2 separate regions of the Homo sapiens genome follow, and region 1 is linked to region 2. The links are contacts of gene promoters, found by promoter capture Hi-C in human tissues and cell types (Jung and others, 2019). All regions are on one chromosome and are shown on one strand. The core of a region is centred on a gene start or on the middle of the fragment in contact, and the rest is flanking DNA. Distances in the headings are between cores, read along the strand shown. Region 1 holds the start of NPM3 (nucleophosmin/nucleoplasmin 3). Region 2 overlaps FBXW4 (F-box and WD repeat domain containing 4).

What was found. The method cuts DNA at HindIII sites, captures the fragments that hold promoters and counts their contacts. A contact is called where the count stands out against the background at its distance.
Region 1: the fragment with the promoter of NPM3 here is called in contact with a fragment that was not itself captured in region 2 in 4 of the 25 tissues and cell types used here (bladder, dorsolateral prefrontal cortex, hippocampus and 1 more).

The regions. Positions count from the first base shown.
Region 1 is chr10:101,780,456-101,785,079 of GRCh38, forward strand. It overlaps NPM3 (nucleophosmin/nucleoplasmin 3), which reads right to left and starts at 2,991. Exons shown (of 6, transcript NM_006993.3): 1 at 2,818-2,991; 2 at 2,384-2,469; 3 at 2,023-2,142; 4 at 1,803-1,896; 5 at 1,272-1,399; 6 at 870-1,177. The coding sequence starts at 2,935. The coding sequence ends at 1,281. OGA (O-GlcNAcase) reads right to left here. Exons shown (of 16, transcript NM_012215.5): 16 at 3,995-4,624. RefSeq lists a promoter at 1-851 and enhancers at 1-120, 1-818, 697-991, 1,919-2,558. The HindIII fragment of the contact is 4,177 bases long and covers 1-4,028 here.
Region 2 is chr10:101,687,164-101,691,544 of GRCh38, forward strand. The region is part of intron 1 of FBXW4 (F-box and WD repeat domain containing 4); the gene reads right to left. Among named protein-coding and RNA genes, the nearest start is that of FBXW4, 5.8 kb to the right of the region's middle. The HindIII fragment of the contact is 4,070 bases long and covers 964-4,381 here.

The DNA of each region.
Region 1 (4,624 bases), core at 1,741-4,240, 93 kb after region 2:
GTTGGCCTGACCCCCATCAGGCCCTGTTCTCTGTCTATCCTCAGCCTGTCTGGCCCCAGGTTGTCTGGGGAGGCAATGTTTTGTTTGTTTGTTTGTTTGTGGGCATTGACAACCCTCCCCCCACAACCAACACAGCTGCTGAACTGCTGACCCCAGAGCTGGTCACATACACTCATCCTCAAACCAGGTGTGTCAGTTCTTCCTGGCACAAAGGCAGCCAAGTGCCAGAACTACCTGATTCCAGGCACCAAAGACCCCCAGACCCCACGGTGTGTGGGGGACAAGAATCCCTTAGTCCAGGAGGCAAATTCCCTGGGGCCCCTTTCTGCCCCCATATGCCAGGCCACCCGGATTCTGGTTTCCCTGTCACCCAATCTGGCCAGTCCCCTCCATCTGGCCCCCGGAGTCAGGTTTCTCTAAGGGCCCAGCCCTGCTCAGAGACAGCCTGCAAGGCTCAAAGGAGGAGCGAAGCCTGGTCCCGCCCTGCCCTCACAGGCCCTCTCTGGGCCAGAGACCCTCGTGGGGCTAGGGACGCGCATTCCTCAGGCTGCCTAAGCTCGCTTATCTGCCCCCCTGCCCATCAGCCGAGTGCTGACAGAGGCCCAGACCCCTTGTTTGGATGCTGATAACCTCCTGCGATGACCCTCTCCCACCTGCAGAGACTGGGAATGGGCTGAGTGTTGGGAGGTCCCCTTCCAGCAAGGCAACTGGGGCCCAGGCCCCAGGTCCTAGCCCAGGGCCATGAGGGTAGAGGATCCCACAGTTCTCCACCCTCCCCCAGGCCCAGGGCCACGCTGGGTGCTTCCACAGTGCCACCTGGCGGTCCCTAGGGAAACATCACCCAGCACAGGAAGAAGCCACACAAGAGCTGCAAAAACTCCACACCACTTTATTTCAACCTTTATCCAAAAATGTAAAAACTATTAAAAATGTGTAGCTCTGAGCTTCAGGCACTAACCTCCAATTCTCACAGGCAGGTGGGAAGGGAGGCCCCGGGCATGGTGAAAATCAGAAAACCACGGCTGTGTGGAGCACAGGCCCTCTCCTAGCACCAAAGACCCAAGTCCCTCCCACCCAACCCCCACCCAAGCTCTCCTCTTCAAGGAAGAAATATTTACAATTGTTGAAACTTGTCAGGGAACAGGGTGCATGGCGGTGCATGGCACATGGAGCTGACCTGAAAAGAGGAAACAAGGAATCAGCATTTAGGCCCTCACCTGCTTCTCCTGCCCCTTCCCAGAGCCTGCTAGGCACTTCTCCCCGCAACTCACCTAGGAGGGCTAGGGCCTGCCCCCCTGCTTTTTGGCAGGAAGGATGGGGCACAGCTCAACTTCTTCCTCATCACTGTCCTCTTCCTCTTCCTCGCTCTCCTCCTCAGAAACATCATTGCTCATCGTAACTGGTGGACACACAAGCAGTAGAAGGATGGGGTGTTAAGACCAGACCGTTTCACACCGCATGCCATTTCTTCACGCCGTGGTGTTAGGCTTACAGGGACCATGACCTCCCAGTGCTTATGGGCTAGGTGGGAAGAACCTCAGACCCTAAACTGGGTCACAAAGAGCCAAAGGAGTCTTCATTATTGGAGCTGGAGAAGTTGGGCCATGTTCCATGGAGGAGGTAGGCTTGAGTAGACGGAAAGGAGAGGGCATGTCATGCACAGGGCACAGCGTGGAGGGCACACAGACCTGTACAGGGCTGCACTGGGAGATGAGGGTGGGATGGGGCAGGAGTGCGGAGTGGGGGAAGCCTGATGGGAGAGTCCACTGGAAGCAAAGGAGAGGGCCCTCCCCTCTTCTCACCAATCTGGTGCCGCCCAGTGATCCGCACAGGGCCAGAGCCCGACTTCAGGCGGAAGGTTACAGGTGGTTGGAGCTGGAAGTCATCCAGACTGAGCTGGGAGGAAGACAAGGATGAAGGCCTGGCCCACTCCTAGCCCACCCCACACTGTAATGAGTGCTAACGTCCTCAATCCCCTCACCACCACCACCACCACCACCAAGGCAGAGCTGGGGAACTCACCATGGGTTGGCAGGACAGCTTGAGGTTGGCCACAGGGACTGCGATCTCCTGATGGTCATGGTTCCGGGCCACAACTTCTACCACATTACACTCGTCTTTGGCTCCCTCGGTGAGGCAGAGCTGGGAACGGTACACAGGGCCTCAGGGTCTCCTCAAGTGAGGGTTGACACCACAACTAAAGGCATCTACCCTAGCACCTGCCCAGCCTCAGAGGTCCCGGTTCACCTGGCCAGGGGAGCCGCCCATGCCGGGGGGTTAGGCTGAGGATGTGTCTCCAAGTAAAGGGGATCCGGAGGTTGGGTAGAGACCTATATTGCCTGCCTGGGCTTATTCATTAAAACCCCACTCCCCTGCCCCTCACCATGGTTAGTGCCAGCACGTGCTCCGCATCATCCTCTTCCTCTACCTTAAAGGTGAAGGAGCGGGTGTGGCCGGAGAGCTCACAGCCTGGTAGAAATAACAGTGAGTATGCCTGAGCGTGTGTACGGGGCTGGGCAGCGGGGGATGTCACCAACCCGCCGTCACGTGTAACCTTGGGCGGACGGGTCATTTACACGTCCACCTCCGTCTCTTCTCTCAGAACACCTGGGACGCTCTGCCGTGGGCCCCGCCCAACACATCTGGGGCAGGGATCTCGCCACCCCCTTTGGCTGTGCGTGCGAGGCCCCCTCTCCTGCGGGAACAGCGAAGCAGCCCTCCGCCCACACCCACGCCTTGAAACCCTCCGCATTCCCGCCTCACATCCCTACCTCTTACCGCCCCAGTACCACCCTCAGCCTCTCCCTTCACTAATACCGAAGAAAAAACTGTCCATAGTGACCGGGGCCGGGACCCGTAGGCCCCCGACACCCCCGGCCCGCGTTCGGCTCTCCTGACTCAAAAACGCTAAGGCAGCTGCAGTACCGGCGGCCATGCTGTAAGAGCCTTCTTCAAACTCCGCCCCCGACACGCACAAAGCCGGGGACCCTCGGCCAGTTCCGGCCCCGCCCATTAAAGGAGACGCACAGTCCTGGAAAAGAAAAGGCGCCGAGACCCCGCAGCCCTACCCGGAGCCCGCAGCTTCTGCTCATATTTTATCAAGACCGAAGAGAAAGGAAGTAACATCACAGAAGAATGGATTTGGGGTTTATGTTAACATCCTTGCTCATTTCCACGACCATGAGGGTGTCCACTTCCCCAAGCTCCTCGCTCTGTGTCGGAAGAGTGTCTCCCACTCTTCCAACCCAGGGTAAGCTTTCGTTAAAGGAGTTATAGATATAAAAATGTAAACCCTTCTTACTCCTCCCAGCAAAGGTGGGGTTCAGGGCAGTGCTTTTCTGCTACAAGCAAAGGAAATGCACTCAGATTGTCTTTGCCTCAAGAGAGCCGAGGAGCCTTAGGAATTTCCATCCCAACACGTCTGTCCTGTCTGTCCTCTCGGCTAAGCCTCTCTTAATTCTTCCTGCTCTAAAGACCCCGCAACTTGCTATGCCTTCACTGAGACTTAGCTGCTGGCACTTGCTAGCAGAGGACTAGTTAGCTCATGTGTGTTGGCTGTTCCTGGCCCACCCACGCTTTTTGAGCTTTTAATTCCAAATCATCCAGGAGTATCTTTGCGCCGTGGATTATTTTGTCAGTTTATGCTACTCGCGCCATCTTTCGCCTTTTAAGAATCAGGCAAACTGTGTGCTTTCTATCCTAATAGATGGCAAAACTCAAACTAGAGGCCCTATTTCACATCCAGGTTATAACTGTGGCAAGAGGGTGGGGTGGCTTGGCTAAAAACTAGTCTACTTTTCTTAGCTCTTGTCTTAATGAAAATCTGGAAGTCTTACTGGTGATGGAGGTAGGGGAGGGCTGCCTTCAAGATCCAATCTCTAACTTGGAACAGCTGTGGAGAGGAGAGAATACCTGCTTGTAGGTGAGGCATGAAAGAGGAGAAAAGGGAGGGGGCAGACAGGAAATAGATTCACACAATACAACACGACAAGCATTCACTTCAAGTTTTATTTTGCCTCTTGCATGGTCTTTTACAGTTCGTTTTCTACAGGAACTGAGCTCTGATCCAAACAATCAATAAAAATGTAATTCCAACCTTAATATTCATAACCAGGAAATAGCATAGCACTTCATGATCCTAGAGTGATGAAAGCAAGACCAGGGCATCTGTTTCACAGTCACCTGTGACCAGACCAGCCAACATGATTACTAAAAGCCAAGATAAAACCAAAAGCAAACTTGCTAAAAAATCCTGAATTCCATGAGGTTAACTCTGAAATCCTCCAAACAAAATGCTAGAATTGTCCACTAGTGTTAAGACGAGAAAACTGAGGAAAACTCAGCTGTCTTACTATCTGGTAAGAGTCTTCCCTTCATCTCAAGCCCTCAAAAATGCAAACTTGGTTCCAGCTTTACAACATACCATATCCTTCTATCGGTTAAAGGTTTCTAACCTAAAAACCTTCTCTCCTTTCTTCTCACCTATTTAGTGCATACTCAAAGGCTTTGGTTGGAAGTCACTAGGTACCACTAGGTACAATGCTTTAGGGCTCTCTCAAAGCCCACAATGGTGGAGTTCTGTGAAAGAAAACTTAAGTTTCTTTCTCTTTACCCCTCTCCCCTC
Region 2 (4,381 bases), core at 1,749-4,248:
GTCCCATCACCTGCCACCCCATCCTCATCCCCCCTACAAAACCCACAGATTGTGGATTTCCTCTCATTCTTGGCAGAGTTACCAGAAGAAATATAATACCCCCTTCGGACTGCTCCCAACAGCTGCTGGAAAAAGACAGGAGAGCTGGGGGTATCCCTCCAAAGCTGCCTCTAAAAATGACCATTCCCCCTTCCAACCCACACAGCCAGTGAGCATAAGACTTCTCTTTCTCTACTTTCTTAAAGCAAGGGGAGACCACAAAATCAACAGCGTACCCTAATCCAAAATACTTGCTTCCGGCCCATCTGTTCTCCTCAATATGACTCCAAACTGAAGCTTCTGTACAGTAACCACCACTCTATTTCTCCCCTAACATGTAACTATTAAAACAATCCTCTACCACCTCACAAGACCAGTATTTCTTATTTGTTTAATCTACCAATCTCCAAGTTAGGGTTCCTATCAAACTCCTATTCACTATAATTTCCCATCCCTGCCCACCTGTCCCAATACCACACACTTCATACAAATACGAATCCCCCTCCAGGTCAAGAGACTTGAACAACAAAAGTCTAGGAACAAATTCATCAATGGCTACCCTACACCCCAGCCCTTGCCCAATATCCCTTGCCCAATATCATCATACACTAAATGCTCTTCAATTCTGTCTAAAAACACCCCATCACCAGGCAACAGAGAAGCATCCAGTTATCCTTCAGCCTCTCAGCTGAGACCACCAACAAAGAAGTCCATGAATGTCAACTGGGGGCACAGGCAATATCTCTCTTTGCTGAGGAGAAACTGGAGACAACCTCCAGCATCATTCCCCAAAGGTGACAGCCAGGGTTGAGTGAAGACCGTGAAAACTGTACAAGAGCTGGGGGAGAAAATATAATGTAAGGAATGATTTGAAATCAGGGGCAGGAGAAGGCAGAGGAATGAACTGGCTGACCCCAAATGTCTTTTCCATCTCTAACTCCTATGATTCTTTGACCTCCAATTTTGTGCTGTGGACAAGGAATGGAAAGTCAACAGACGTGGTGATGTTTTGAAAGAGCCTGGCAGTCTGCTCTTGTCATTTAGTGGCCTTTGCATGTATTTTTTAAGGTGTCTCCAAGCCCTGTCTTCATTTCACAGTTGTCACCTTTCTCAGCAATTTGAGCTCATGTCAAATACCAAAAAAGAAGAGGAAGAAGAAAGAATGTGCTGGCAATTAATTGTGGGCTAAAGAGGGGCGGCAGGCACAGGGGCCCATTGGGTGGCCCAGACTTCCAGGGAGGGCAATGTGGACAGTTTGGATAAAATGAAGAAATGACTCAAAATTGAGACAAGGCAGCCAAACCTCTAACAGGAGATAAATTCTTTCTCCAGATAGTCTCATACTCATTTTTAGAGAAAGCTCAAATATTTACATGATTCAGGGTACATAAACATATTCTTAATTACCATAACCATTTTGATTCAATTGATTACAATTGGAGTTCCATCTGAGCAAGACTACTGAATAGGAAGGACTTTCCTCAAGGGTAAACCAAATCTTTGGATTCTCAACCTTGACTCATGGTTGACACACCTGAGGTAAATTCTGAAGCTTAGCAAAAGTCAGTTTCTGCAGATCAAAGAAGGGAGTCTGCCAATTTTCACTGAAAATTCAAAACCCAATTTTCTCCTCTTTTTTTCAAACAGTTGATCTCATCTTAATTTTCAAATATTTTTGGAGCCTGGTCTCAATAAGAATCTGCCTAAATTTCTCCCAGTTCCATGGTTACAAGTCAGGACCAGAAACTAATCCAGTGCCAGGGTCAACCCAGAGCTAAGGTTAAGTTGTCACACACACGTAATTCTTTTCTAAGTCACACATTCAAAAATAATTTTTTAAAAAACCTGTATACTTCCTCAGTGACCTCACTGTCAGTTGGGGATTTCAGCAGCTCAAGCACAATCTTTACCTTAGATGAAGGTTCCAGGTGCAAAAAAAAAAAATGAAAGTATGGAGTACCGAAATATTTTCAGAGCTCTCATTCCAGTATGAACTCATACTACAGATTGCTCATCTCACAGACTGTGAAGACATTGGGTTTCTCCATGTTTCTGCCTTGAAAGCTAGAAAATTCAGCCCCTACCATTCAAGTTTTACAAGACTGGAAAGGATATAAACAGCTTCTGTATTCTCATGGTCTTAGAGAAGGCTTCTTCCATTCTTCCAGTTCGCATTTGGAGGTAGTGATTGCACTAGACCATGTCCTGCTTCCACAGGTGTACTGTTTTATTTTGAACCTGTAAACTAAACTCTATTTTATTAACTCATAGAAACCATTAAAAATAAGGCCTTTCCAAACGCCGAAGACAATAAATACATCCATATTCGAAATCATTCCGTGAATTACAGAACAAATAAGTGACTGTCCTCCCTGGGTAAGGCAGAAAACTGGAGAAAGCCTAAGCTACTTTGAGTTGTTAATTGTTTTCTGAAGATCACAGTTTAGGCCTTAAATGTAACCAGTTAGCAATACCATCTCCATTCAGGGTTAGGAAACTGGTTAGGAAACTATATGCTTTCTGGGTCAAGAAAATGCTCTTAGGCACAATCATTTTAAAACAAATAAACACACTCTGCTTATCTGTGTCTATCTCACCACTCTGGACGTTAATCATCACTGAAATAGATACCCCAGGCCCCCAGCCTCAAAGAGCTCCAAGGCTACAGGACCCCTCCACAGGAATGAATGTACATGCCAGGACAAACACCTCAGGAGCCTCACTCCCTAAACACCTATTGTTAATTCCAGGCAAATCTATCATAGGCAAATGCAAGACAGCACCCAGGTACTGCTCAAAGGCTATTTAAAATAAAATTCCTATTTGAGAATATGTAGCACTTAATTCGGGAGGAAGAGGATCAAGTAAGCTTTCTTTAACATAAGACTGGCAATAGAATCTTTTAAAAATAGCTTTACATGCACAGATGTACTTTTTCTTTCCATTATTTGCGTTTGTTAATTTTCAGTATCAGAATTTGCAGATAGCGCTCCTGTTCTTCCCCTGTCATAATGTCTACTTCTTGCATTCAGTCTACATTATCAAGTGACAGCTGAATTCCACTGTCTTGTTCTTGTAAACGGAACTAGGTTAGTTTGTCCTCTTACTCTTTAGGGAAAATTTGAAAGACTGCTATATGAAACATTTCTTTGATTTTTATTGTTATATTCAGGATATTTCTATTCCAACAGGCTTCATAAAATCTCCAAACAAAACTGATTTTAAATCAGATGACTGACTCCAACTATCTTTGTGTCCCTTTAAAAAAAAAAGAAAAGTAAGCTTAGGATATCTATTAGTGTTCACTGTTCGGGCAAGAGGCCTAAAGGGAAGCAAATTATTTGTTTGTGGTTTTAAAGTGGCCAGAATGCCTTCAAGCACAAGTATAAGACCATTAGCAAATCACAAGGAACCAAAGCAGTTCATCTTACTCAACAAAGCTATGATCAGTTAGGAACAGCCAAACTGAATGGGACTTGCCCTGGGCCGGAAGGTCAGTAAACCTTAGCAGTTTGTGTTTCTGAGAATCAAGAGGCTCTTCGTCCCGGAGTGCAGGCCATAAGTCCACAGGTTCTGCTGTCATGTTTCCAAAAACATTCAGGACAGGTGAGAGAAACGAAGCACAGTGCGTGTGTGTGCGTGTTCTTCCCTTTGTCTTTAGTCAGCACCTCTAAGTCAAACCATCCCCACTTTTGCTATATACAGACTAACTAGAGGAGAACCCAAACAATTAAAAAGTTCCGTTTTACAATTTATTGTGTGCTTACTATGTGCTTAATGCTGTACTAGCCAGCATTCTACACTTAAGCCTCATTTTACCAGGCAAGGTTATTCCCATTCTTTATAGGTAATAAAACCTAGGGCCAGTGAGGTTATGTGGCTTCTGGTCAAATCAAGTTTTGTGTAATGCTGATAAAAACTCATCTCACTTATCTAGTCTGCAGTTAATTAGCCCAAAGCAATGAACGACAGCCCTGCCACTATCCAAGCAGCCATACTCTTGCTGTACTTTGGGCCCGGGTTCGCTGACTCCCTAAGTGGACTGGGGTGCATGCCTTCTCCCTCCAGGGATGACAACCACCTCTCTCAGTGGCTTATTAAGTCTCTGCAGCTGTCCAGAAACGGACCACACTGGTAAACATTCTCTCCACCTGCTGTAACACGCATAACTTCTTCCCTCAATCCAGAAAACCCGAGCAGTGACCCTGCTCTTTATCAAGTGCTATGGCAAAATAACTTCCCTAGAAGGCCAGGACACCTTACCCTAGGACATGGGCGAGAAATCAAAACACACATGTCTAATAAATAATAAAGCCATATCATTTGGCAATCTCAAAGCATT